Linked DNA regions of Homo sapiens: region 1 is linked to region 2. The links are contacts of gene promoters, found by promoter capture Hi-C in human tissues and cell types (Jung and others, 2019). All regions are on one chromosome and are shown on one strand. The core of a region is centred on a gene start or on the middle of the fragment in contact, and the rest is flanking DNA. Distances in the headings are between cores, read along the strand shown. Region 1 holds the start of WNT10B (Wnt family member 10B). Region 2 overlaps TUBA1C (tubulin alpha 1c).

Region 1 (5,477 bases), core at 517-3,016, 300 kb before region 2:
GAATTCCAGGAGAGGCCCCTCCCGGAGCCGCGAAACCATCCCTTCCCGCCTCCGCGCGCCTCGCCCTGCCGCCCACCCCCTAGCCTCCGCGGCAGCGCCGACCCGCCCAGCCAGGCTCACCGCGCTTGAGGATGGCGCTGTGGTGCGGCAGGCGGCCGCCGCCCTCAAGCGCGGAGCAGTTCCAGCGCTGGTCGCGCAGCTGGTGCTGACACTCGTGGACCGCGATGTGCAGACCCTGAAGCGCGGACGCCGTCACGTCGGGGTTGCGCAGGCACAGGCCTAGCTGCCGCTTGCTCAGGCCGGACAGCGTCAAGCACACGGTGTTGGCCGTCAGCGGCGGCTCGCCAGGCAACTTCAGGCCCAGAATCTCATTGCTTAGAGCCCTGGGAACCAAGAAGGCGTCTGGGGTCTGCGGTCCAGACCCCTCCAACTCTCCCCACCCCGGGTCGGTGTTTCTATGGCCTGGGAGACAAGGGGAACTGCTCACCGACTGCACAACGCCAGGAACAGGAGACCCGCGAGGCCCGAGGGCGGAGGCCGCGGCCGGGGCTCCTCCAGCATGTCGAAGCCCGGAGGCTCCGGTGGGCAGATCGATCAGGACCTGCGGGACGGGAGACTTGATGCGGGTTCAGGAATAGGGCGGCTCGCTTGGGGAACCAAGTGACGCCCTTCTTCGGGCTCCTAACCCACCGGTGCCACCCTACTGACCCTTCTCATTCCTCCTCAAACAAAACAAGAAGAAACACCCCTTGATTCCCAGAGTCCCTGAGGCTTGGAGGTCTTAAAGAAGAAGAGTCAAGGCGTTGTCCCAGCTCAGGACTCAAGCGAGCACCCCTGGAACCTTGCCCAATCAGACACAACGCCCGGCACACAGACACACACTCACTTGCAAACTCAGACACACAGACTCACAAACACTTGCTCCACAACCTCGCCTACTGCTCCCTTTTCCAGGGCCCCACGACTAGCTTCCCCGCCCTCACAGGGCTAGGGAGAGGGATAGGGAGGAGGTTCCCCACCACCTAAGGGGGTGTCACCTCCAGGTGTCATCAAGGGCAAGTAGGCTCCATGAGAAAGGTCTAAGAATGAGTTCCCCACTCACACTGCCCCCTCCCTGAGCAGCAAGGAAAGAGGAGAGGCTCCAGGTGCAGGAAAGATGGGGAGGAGAGCCTGGCTCCCTCCTAAAAGGGACCGTGGCACAGACTGAGTCCTCTTCCCTATCCCCCACCTTGCCTAACTACAAGCTCCCCTCCTCCATAGTCGCCCGTCTGGTCCTCACCCCTTGGCTCTCACATTCATTGCATTCTAAATCTGGGGGCACTCCTTTATTCTCTGTGTCTTTATCTCTAGCAATATCTCTGGCTCTCTATGCGTCTCTGTGCTTCTGTGGGTGGATGCGTGTCTGTCTGTCTGTCTGACTACACACGTGCCTGTCTCTTCCTCGTGTGCACGTCCCTGCCCTCCCTGCTTTCCCAGGTCTAATTACCTCCAGTGGTTTGGGTGCGGGGTCCGAGACAGGCACGGTTGGGTTGCCTGGGCTTCACTAGTGCTGCTTAAACCGTGGGGAGACTGCGCTGGGTTCTGTCCCCTTGTCAGAGCCGCATTCTTCCAGGGCCGGGCCACTCCTCTTCACCGCTTCCCCAGCGCCGCCGCGGCCGCCGGGAGGAAGGGAGGGAGGAAGGGAGGGAGTGATCGAGAGAGCTAGCAAGCCGGCGAGCAAAGGACTGGGGGCTCTGGCTTTGCTCTCACCGAGCTCAGGGTGGCTCTGCCGGGCTGACGGAGCTGCAGCCCCTCCCCGAGCCTGGGGCTTCCCCACCCTACCCTCCACTCCCAGCCTTGACCAGGCGAATGCAGCCTCCCCCTCCTCCCAGCGCGCGCGCGCGCGCGCGCGCGCGCACACACACACACACACACACACACACACACACACACTCTCTCTCTCTCACACACCCTCTCCCCCGACGCCTGGGTTCAGGCTTGGCCCCACTGAAGAAGGAGGTGGCCAGAGTTCCTCTCACCTGATCTGGGGTCGCCAAGGCTGCAGGGAGGGTGTAGTAACCTTCCTAGGGAGCCAGAATGGGGCCCAGATGGCCACATCTTTCATCACTCCTCTTTGCGTCAGTTTCTCCACCAAGATCAGGGTGGCTGGAAGGTGCCTTTGACAAGATGAGGATGGAGCCAGACAGTCTTTGGGCTTCTCGGTGTGGGACAGTCACATGTGGCACCCACAGCCTGAGCGCACCCGGGGTACTCAGAGCGGGCAGGAGAAGCACACGTCTGGGCAGCTTGGTTCCCACCCTCCTCCAAGCCCTGCGCCTGCCCCTTTGGAGGGGACAGCTTTGGCCTCAGAGTTTGGCCCTAGCAGAGGTTCAAGTAGCACCAAAGATTGTCAGCCTGCCCCGATGCTTCCTTGCCTGGCAGGGATGCTTGCCAACAGAGGTATCCTACCCTTCTCGGGATTCCCCCGGTCTGCACTTTGGGTGGCCTGGATTCCTGCTCCAAGCTGTAGACTTGCTTCTTATGGGATGAGGAGGGCCTTGGGATCCAAAATTGAGCCAAGCCCAAGGGCAGCCGGGAAAGAGCCTGGTCTTGGGGTGCACAGGCAAAGGCAAACCGCCTTAGGGAGACCCAGTGGCAGCGAACGGGTTAGGCGCCACCGTGCTCCCGCCTGACTCACCCTCGAAGCTCTAACCACTGTGGGCTATTTTTGCCAGAGAGGGGCCCCAGGCTTTCCAGCCGCCCCCCGCCCCTGCCAGACCGCAGCCCAAGGCACGGCTGGCCCCACGCGCCCCAGGCACATTGACTCAGACTGCCCCCAAGCAAGCAGAGGAACAGGGATGATACCCACAACCACAGTCACCTCTTCCTTGGTGGTGGCGTTGCAGCTCTGCTGGGCAGCCAGCCTCCAGTCTGTGCTGCTGGAGGTCCTGCCCGTGCTGCAGGGGTCACTGTTGGATAGCGGGCACAGCAGTCTGAGACAGGAGATCGAGCAAACTTACATCTGTTGGGATATTTACAGATCACCTTTACGTGCCAGGCTGTGAGCAGTCTGGGGAGGTGAAAGTGCCATGGTCCCTGACACTGGACAGCCTGGACCAGACTGCTTTTCTCTGATTCCCTACCTCTGGGATGGGGAAGTGGGAGCACTAGAGTTCCTGACCCTCCTTCCCATTTAGAGGACAAGAGCCAAACCATGTGTGGTTTTGGAGGTCACCAGAATCTGCAAGCCCCATCTCATAGTTTTCATCCTTACACCTGGATTCATGATCCCCACCAGTGTCCTTATCCTTTTTCTTGCAGTCACCCTGGGATTCCTGCCAGGTCCTTGGAAGAGGGGAATGAGGTTGCCTAAGCCTCTCTTCTCCATGGGGACCTCATGGACATTTGTATTTCTCCATGTGTCTCTGGGTCCCCCTTAGGTTTGGGATTATTTTTTGCCTTCTGATTCTACCCTTGTCAGGCTCCAGCATACAGCCAGGTGCCAAGAAGGGGCGAGGGGCAGAACTACTACAATAGGTTTCAACTTCCTGGTGACCCTAGGTCTCCCCAAGCAGGACTGTTCCAAATCCAAGGACCCAGAGTCCTGCTCCTTCTCTCTACTGAAGCCCAACTCTGGGACAAGAGGCCACAGGCCGGCAGACTGGGTGGCCTGAGCTGGCCCGCAGTGCCCTCAGCCCGACCGGCTGGCCTGAGCACTGACCCGCAGGCGGCTAGAGGGCGGTGGGACAGGCGGGGCCTGGAGAGGGCTGTGGGTGCACACCCATTGCCTAATACCCCAAGCACGCGGCCAGCTCCAAGAAAGGGGAGGGACGGGAACCAGAGAGACCTTGACGTGGGTCAGGGCCAATGACAGGAGGGGGAAAGTGGGGGGCTTTCATCACTGCAGGGAGGGACTAGGAGCAAGCTGGTTCCCCTTCCCCTCAATGAGAAGAGTGGAGGGCTGCCCTTCCCATCCTAGGGATGGAGGGTGTAACGAGAGCAATGTGGGAAGAACACTGGGGCCCTGGAGGGCGGGGGTCAAAGAAAAGAGTGGGGGCCCCTGGAGATTGGGGGATGTCGAGCAACTGAGGCGGTGGCTAAAGCCTCAGAAGCCTCCTCCTCCTCCTCCCCCCATGTTTGCCTTGGCCCGGGGTCCCGGGTGACTCATCTGTTGCTGAGCCGCTGATAGGGGAGGCCAGACCCGGGGAACCCAAATTATAGGCCCAGGAGGGATGGATGCGCCCGTGGCGGTGAGCTCAGCTGCGCTGCCCACCCTCCGCTTAATGCGCCTTCTGCTGCAGCACCGTAGGCCACCACCTGGAGGCACCAAAGGGTCTGCGGGCCGACTGCATACTGGACTCTCAGGAAGGCCCCACTTTCAGCAGTCCACTCCAACAAATCCATGGGATTACCTTAGACAGAATTTTGCCCCCTTCTGTACTCAGGCCTAATGGATGGGCTGTGCCTTCCCAGCCCAAGGGGGCAGTGCTGCCTGCGGGTGCTTCAAAGGAGGGTAGGCTCCTCTGCCCACAAACTCTAAACCCTGGAGCCCTGCTTCCTCCCCAGATCCCAAAGTCAAGGCAAAGCCCCTCTCCCCTCTAACATCTCACCTCTAACCCTATTCCAGGGGGGTGGTTTGCTACTGATTTTCAACTTCAAGCCTTTAAAGTCATCCACGGTCAAAACTGATACAGAGAAAAATGAAGCAGGGTAAAGGAGATTAGTAGTGGGATTCTATTTTATAAAGGGGGAGGGAAAACAAACTGAAGGAACAAATACATGGAGAGATCTGAGGAAGAGCATTTTAGAAGACAGAAAAGCAGGTGCACAGACCCTTAGAAAGGAGCATGCTTGGTTCAAAGGATTAGAAAAGAGGCCAGTGAGGCTAGTGGGGAGAAATTCGCAAGGAAGAGAGTGGTAGGCAATGAAGCTGGAGGGCTAGGAAGGAGGCCCCTTTACTTTGAGTGACATGGGGTCTCGCTGGAAAATTTTGAGCAGAGAAATGAACTAATCAGACTTCTGTTTTAGGAAAGATGGCTCTGGGCTGGGCGCAGTGGCTCATGCCTGTAATCCCAGTACTTTGGGAGGCCGACGTGGGCAGATCACGAGGTCAGGAGTTCGAGACCAGCCTGGCCAACATGGTGAAACCCCACCTCTACTAAAAATACAAAAATTAGGTGGGAGTGTTGGTGGGCGCCTGTAATCCCAGCTACTCGGTACGCTGAGGCAGGAGAATCGCTTGAAACCGGAAGGTGGAGGTTACAGTGAGCCGAGATCATACCACTGCACTCCAGTCTGCACAACAAGAGCAAAACTCCGTCTCAAAAAAAAAAAAAAAGAAAGAAAGAAAGAAAGAAATTGGCTCTAGTAATTAAATCAACCCTTTTGATTTTTGCAGTAAAATGGAGCACTGAAATGGAGCAATCTTGGGCAGTAATGTGGGGTCTAATGAAGTTTTTGGGTTTTTCAGATGGGTACTATTGCAGCATGTCTGCATG
Region 2 (5,841 bases), core at 2,454-4,953:
TGTGAATCATTCCTAAATGTCCCATCTGATGTATTATACCCTGACATTTTCCTTTCTTCCTCCCACAGCGTGAGTGCATCTCCATCCACGTTGGCCAGGCTGGTGTCCAGATTGGCAATGCCTGCTGGGAGCTCTACTGCCTGGAACACGGCATCCAGCCCGATGGCCAGATGCCAAGTGACAAGACCATTGGGGGAGGAGATGATTCCTTCAACACCTTCTTCAGTGAAACGGGTGCTGGCAAGCATGTGCCCCGGGCAGTGTTTGTAGACTTGGAACCCACAGTCATTGGTGAGTTGACCTCAGTAACCCAAGTGAGATCCCAGGGTGCTGGGACAGGAGGTCTGTCCTGGGGGGGCTCCGCTGGTCACTCACCCACTCTCCCTCCCCGCTCCTTGTCCCTCCTCCTCCTCCCCCATCATGTTCTCCAGATGAAGTTCGCACTGGCACTTACCGCCAGCTCTTCCACCCTGAGCAACTCATCACAGGCAAGGAAGATGCTGCCAATAACTATGCCCGAGGGCACTACACCATTGGCAAGGAGATCATTGACCTCGTGTTGGACCGAATTCGCAAGCTGGTAAGTATAGTACTTTAAATAAAGTGGGATGAGAGTTTCTTTTGCAGTTCTGAGACCAAACTACAGAAATCATTCTTTGCAACTAAAATGAGACTATTTGCATTGCAACTAAAATGTATCTGTTCACTAAATTAATTGGATTTCTGAACCAGATGATCTTGGATTTATGGGACAACTATGGGGTAGAAGTAAGTGCTCTTTAGCCTATTTTGCTTCAAGCTGAGACACCCCTTTTGAGGTCATCTTAGTCATACTGAGTGAGTAGGTAGCTGACTTCTACATGTAACTAATTGATCAGAGTCATTTTTTAAAAATCTGGGATGGTTCCTTCATGTCAATACAGAAAGTTCAGAGAACAAGAAGCCAGTGTCACACTGACAAGAAACAGCCAATACTGGAAACTTCCAGTACTGCTGAAAGTGGAGTCGGGAGCTTCCTTATGAAGTGTGCTGTTTGGATCACTTTAATTAAGAGCCTGGCAATCAGATGACTCTTTGCTCCTTAGGCATGTGGGCAGCTTGTAAGTAATTAACCAGAGATCAAGCATGATGGTCTGGGCAGAGTAACTTGTCAAGAAAATCACATTGTATTAAGCCCAGCCATGACTGCTCCATTCTAAAATAGAATAGCCTCATCATTCATGGCTTCATACTTTCTCAGATGTTTACGTAGTCTTCCCAGCAAAACTGGACTGATGTTTCCGATGCTTAAAAACTAAGCTTTAGGCTGGGCACGGTGGCTGACATCTGTAATCCCAGCACTGGGAGGCCAAGGTGGGCGGATCATGAGGTCAGGAGATCGAGACCATCCTGGCTAACATGGTGAAACCCTCTCTACTAAAAATACAAAAAAATTAGCCGGGCGTGGTGGTGGGCGCCTGTAGTCCTAGCTACTAGGGAGGCTGAGGCAGGAGAATGGCGTGAACACGGGAGGCGGAGCTTGCAGTGAGCCGAGATCGTGCCACTGCACTCCAGCCTGGGCGACAGAGTGAGACTCCATCTCAAAAAAACAAACAAACAAAAAAAACCCTAAGCTTTAGTTATAAGCACTGACTTGGAAAATCAGGGACCTGCCTTTAGGACAAATAAACCTAGTAGCTATTTAGGGTTCTGGAACGTGAGGTTTATTGCCTACCAAAACAATTGCATTTGTCCTTGTCATTACTGTGCTCACAGGAGGCTTAACTGGTGTAATTGGTAGGCGAGAGTCTGCCCTGTGCATTGATCTCATGTAGTTGATGGACCCACAGGCTATAAGGGAGCTGAGTAGAGAATGTTCACAAATCTGAGGCCCATCACTTGGAGAAGCAAGAGTTTACAACAGAATACTTTATTTGGAAGGTCAAAATCATTCCTTCGTAAAGTAGCAGTTTGCTAACCAAAATAGCCCAGTTAGGTGGAGGAAATCCCCAACAACCTGAGGTCTCATGGAATTGTGGTTGTGTCACTTTACCCAAAATAAATGGGCTTCTTGGTACCTAGTGTCATATATTGGCTTACTGGGCCAATACTGTGCTTACTGTGCCAAGCACTATGCTGAGTACTTACTTAATTCTCAACCTAAGGTGATTACTATTCTCACTTAATCAGTGGAAGAACTGAGAAATGAATGTGGTCATACAGTAAGGAACTGGTACAGCCGGATCCTGACACAGCCTGACTCCAGTACCAGGGTGTTAGAACTTTGGCTATTCTGTTGTTCCACCTCAGAAAGCAGCTGCCAAATCTTTACAAGACATCCACTGTACCAGGCTGGTGGTCCTGGGCCTGCCCCTTAGGACCTCTCCAACTAAGAAACTGCCCTGTTCTGTGGCCACAGCAAGAGAACCAGAGGCTGCCTTCCCAGTTACCAAAACTTGAGCCCTGTATGCAAGCCCAGGCCTTGTGATTCCTCTGCCTAAGGCAATAGTTCATCTTAAAATAGTCTTAGCAAAGGTTTTTCTGCTCAAGGACTTGATTGTGAAAAGTTGTTCTGAATCACTTAGCACTTAAAAGCTTTTTTTTTTTTTTGGAGACAGGGTCTGCTCTGTCATCCAGGCTGGAGTGCAGTGGCCTGATCATCAGTCTTGAACCCCTGGGCTCAAATGCAAATGGTCCTCCCACCTTGGACCCCCAAAGTGTTGATTACAGGCGTGAGCCACTGCGCCTGGCCCAGAAGAGTTTTAAAATTGCAATTGGAGTAGCCATAGATTTATAGAAGTCCTCTGTAGGTTTCACCAAATGTGAACACTAAATGAAACTTTCGCAACACTAAAATGAAACTTTTTTATTTTGCAGGCTGACCAGTGCACCGGTCTTCAGGGCTTCTTGGTTTTCCACAGCTTTGGTGGGGGAACTGGTTCTGGGTTCACCTCGCTGCTCATGGAACGTCTCTCAGTTGATTATGGCAAGAAGTCCAAGCTGGAGTTCTCCATTTACCCGGCGCCCCAGGTTTCCACAGCTGTAGTTGAGCCCTACAACTCCATCCTCACCACCCACACCACCCTGGAGCACTCTGATTGTGCCTTCATGGTAGACAATGAGGCCATCTATGACATCTGTCGTAGAAACCTCGATATCGAGCGCCCAACCTACACTAACCTTAACCGCCTTATTAGCCAGATTGTGTCCTCCATCACTGCTTCCCTGAGATTTGATGGAGCCCTGAATGTTGACCTGACAGAATTCCAGACCAACCTGGTGCCCTACCCCCGCATCCACTTCCCTCTGGCCACATATGCCCCTGTCATCTCTGCTGAGAAAGCCTACCACGAACAGCTTACTGTAGCAGAGATCACCAATGCTTGCTTTGAGCCAGCCAACCAGATGGTGAAATGTGACCCTCGCCATGGTAAATACATGGCTTGCTGCCTGTTATACCGTGGTGACGTGGTTCCCAAAGATGTCAATGCTGCCATTGCCACCATCAAAACCAAGCGTACCATCCAGTTTGTGGATTGGTGCCCCACTGGCTTCAAGGTTGGCATTAATTACCAGCCTCCCACTGTGGTGCCTGGCGGAGACCTGGCCAAGGTACAGAGAGCTGTGTGCATGCTGAGCAATACCACAGCTGTTGCCGAGGCCTGGGCTCGCCTGGACCACAAGTTTGACCTGATGTATGCCAAGCGTGCCTTTGTTCACTGGTACGTGGGTGAGGGGATGGAGGAAGGCGAGTTTTCAGAGGCCCGTGAGGACATGGCTGCCCTTGAGAAGGATTATGAGGAGGTTGGAGCAGATAGTGCTGACGGAGAGGATGAGGGTGAAGAGTATTAACCTGTGTGCTGTACTTTTACACTCCTTTGTCTTGGAACTGTCTTATTTTTGTTCTGTAAATGTCTATTGCCGTAAATTGTTAATAAAATTGAAGTTTCCATTTTAAATGTCGAGCTGACTTAAATACTTGATCCAGTTAAAGTTGGATGTATGAGGCTGGTAGATGAAACCACCTGAGTCGAGGGTCTTGCTCTGTCACCCAGGCTGGAGTGCAGTGGCATGATAATACATAGCTCATTGCAGCCTCGAGCTCCTGGACTCATGTGATTCTCCTGCTTCAGCCTCCTAAGTAGCTGGGGACTGCAGGTGCACACCACCATGCCCAGCTATTTTTATTTCTTGTAGAGATGGGGCCTTGCTATGCTGCCCAGGGTGGTCTTCAACTGGCTTCAAGTGATCCTCCTGCCTCAACCTCTCAAAGTTTTGATTATAGGCATGAGCCACTGCCCAGCTTCTTGGTTTATCTGTTTAATTTGGGCCTGAATTAAGTGGTTATAGAATCATTTTGTAAGTGAGGAAACGGGTTCAGATTGAGCCAGTGCTTCTCTAACTAAAATGGATGTGAATCACCTGTAGATATTAAAATGCAGGTTTGGGGTCAACCTGGTGGCTCATGCACTTCGGGAGGCCAAGTTGGGTGGATCACGAGCCCAGGAATTCGAGACCAGCCTGGGCAACATGGTGAAAACCCATCTCTACCAAAACAAAAATTTGCATGCTGTGATGGCACCTGCCTATAGGTGGGAGGACCACCTGAGCCCAAGGAGGTTGAGGTAGTGAGCCATGATTGCACCACTGCATTCCAGCCTGGGTGACGGAGACCCCTGACTCTCAAATTTAAAAACAAAATGCAGGTTCTAATTCTATAGGCTTGAGGTGAGGCTTCAGACACGTCTTAAATTTTTTTTCTTTGAGATGGTCTCTTTCCCAGGCTGCAGTGCAATGGCACCATCATAGCTCACCCCCACCTTGACCTGGGCTAAGCCATCCTCCCACCTCAGCCTCCCAAGTAGCCAGGACTACAGGTGTGTTCCACCATGCCTGGCTGATTCTTGTAATTTTTTTTTTTTTTTTTTTTTTTTTTTTTGGTAGAGATGGGGTTTTGCCATGTTGCTTAGGCTGGCCTTGAACTCCTGGGCTCAGGCAATCCTGCCTCAGCCTCCCAAAGTGCTGGGATTACAGGAGTGAGCCACTACACCTGGCCCCTAGATACGTTTTTTAATAACCTCCCAAATGATGCTGTTGGTCTGATGTGACCACATGTACAGTAGCAAAGGGTTAGATAACAGTAACTGCTGGAGCCAAAATTCAAGTGCCCAGCCACACTGCCAGAACTATTGCTGTCAGTCTTTAATAAAGTATTAGTCACACGAGAAGGGCTTGGAATCCTGATTTATTCCATACTTAGCTAAGACCTACAGTGGCAAAGATGGTTCGTACTAAAGGGGTTATTGTTTAGAGAAAGTGGAAATGTCAGACAAAATAACAGTCACCGGTTTTTCTGGTATTGGCATTTGACCCAATTGTATGTCATGGAGATTATTTGAAGTAGGAGTAATATGTATGTGTAGGAAAGATTGGAGAGGGGTGAGTTCTCTGATTTGGACTTTTTTCCAAGCACCTGTTGGAGGACCGTGGTTCTTGGGGGCAGACGGGTGAAGGGGCATGAGTGTTATACGTAGCTGGAGAGCTTGGTGCCTGGTACTCAGTTGAACTAAGCAATGGGAAAGGACAATGACCAAAAGGTGAAGCTTCATGCAGAAGGGAGGAATCAGTTTTGGTGCTTGGGTGCTTGCCTGAGTGGGAATGCCTAATGAGTGGTAGCAGATGGGCCCTGGGGGCAGAGTTGCAGGCATACTCACCTCTCCTCCGTGACTTACTTTATTCTGATGTGTACCCAGTTACCATCTCTTTCCCAAAGGTGTTTTGTATCCCTTACCCATTGCTCACTTTAGCCCCTTTGCTCTGAGAATTGCATCTGAAAGATGTGCATGTTTAAGGCCAGCGCTG

The links. The method cuts DNA at HindIII sites, captures the fragments that hold promoters and counts their contacts. A contact is called where the count stands out against the background at its distance.
Region 1: a contact is called between the fragment with the promoter of WNT10B here and a fragment that was not itself captured in region 2, in 1 of the 25 tissues and cell types used here (heart left ventricle).

Annotation. Positions count from the first base shown.
Region 1 is chr12:48,969,969-48,975,445 of GRCh38, forward strand. It overlaps WNT10B (Wnt family member 10B), which reads right to left and starts at 1,767. Exons shown (of 5, transcript NM_003394.4): 1 at 1,487-1,767; 2 at 488-601; 3 at 121-383. The coding sequence starts at 561. RefSeq lists silencers at 1-70, 1,538-1,832. The HindIII fragment of the contact is 13,431 bases long and covers 1-5,477 here.
Region 2 is chr12:49,269,397-49,275,237 of GRCh38, forward strand. It overlaps TUBA1C (tubulin alpha 1c), which reads left to right. Exons shown (of 4, transcript NM_032704.5): 2 at 69-291; 3 at 432-580; 4 at 2,857-5,204. The coding sequence ends at 3,831. Among named protein-coding and RNA genes, the nearest start is that of TUBA1C, 7.2 kb to the left of the region's middle. RefSeq lists a silencer at 4,590-4,884. The HindIII fragment of the contact is 6,713 bases long and covers 348-5,841 here.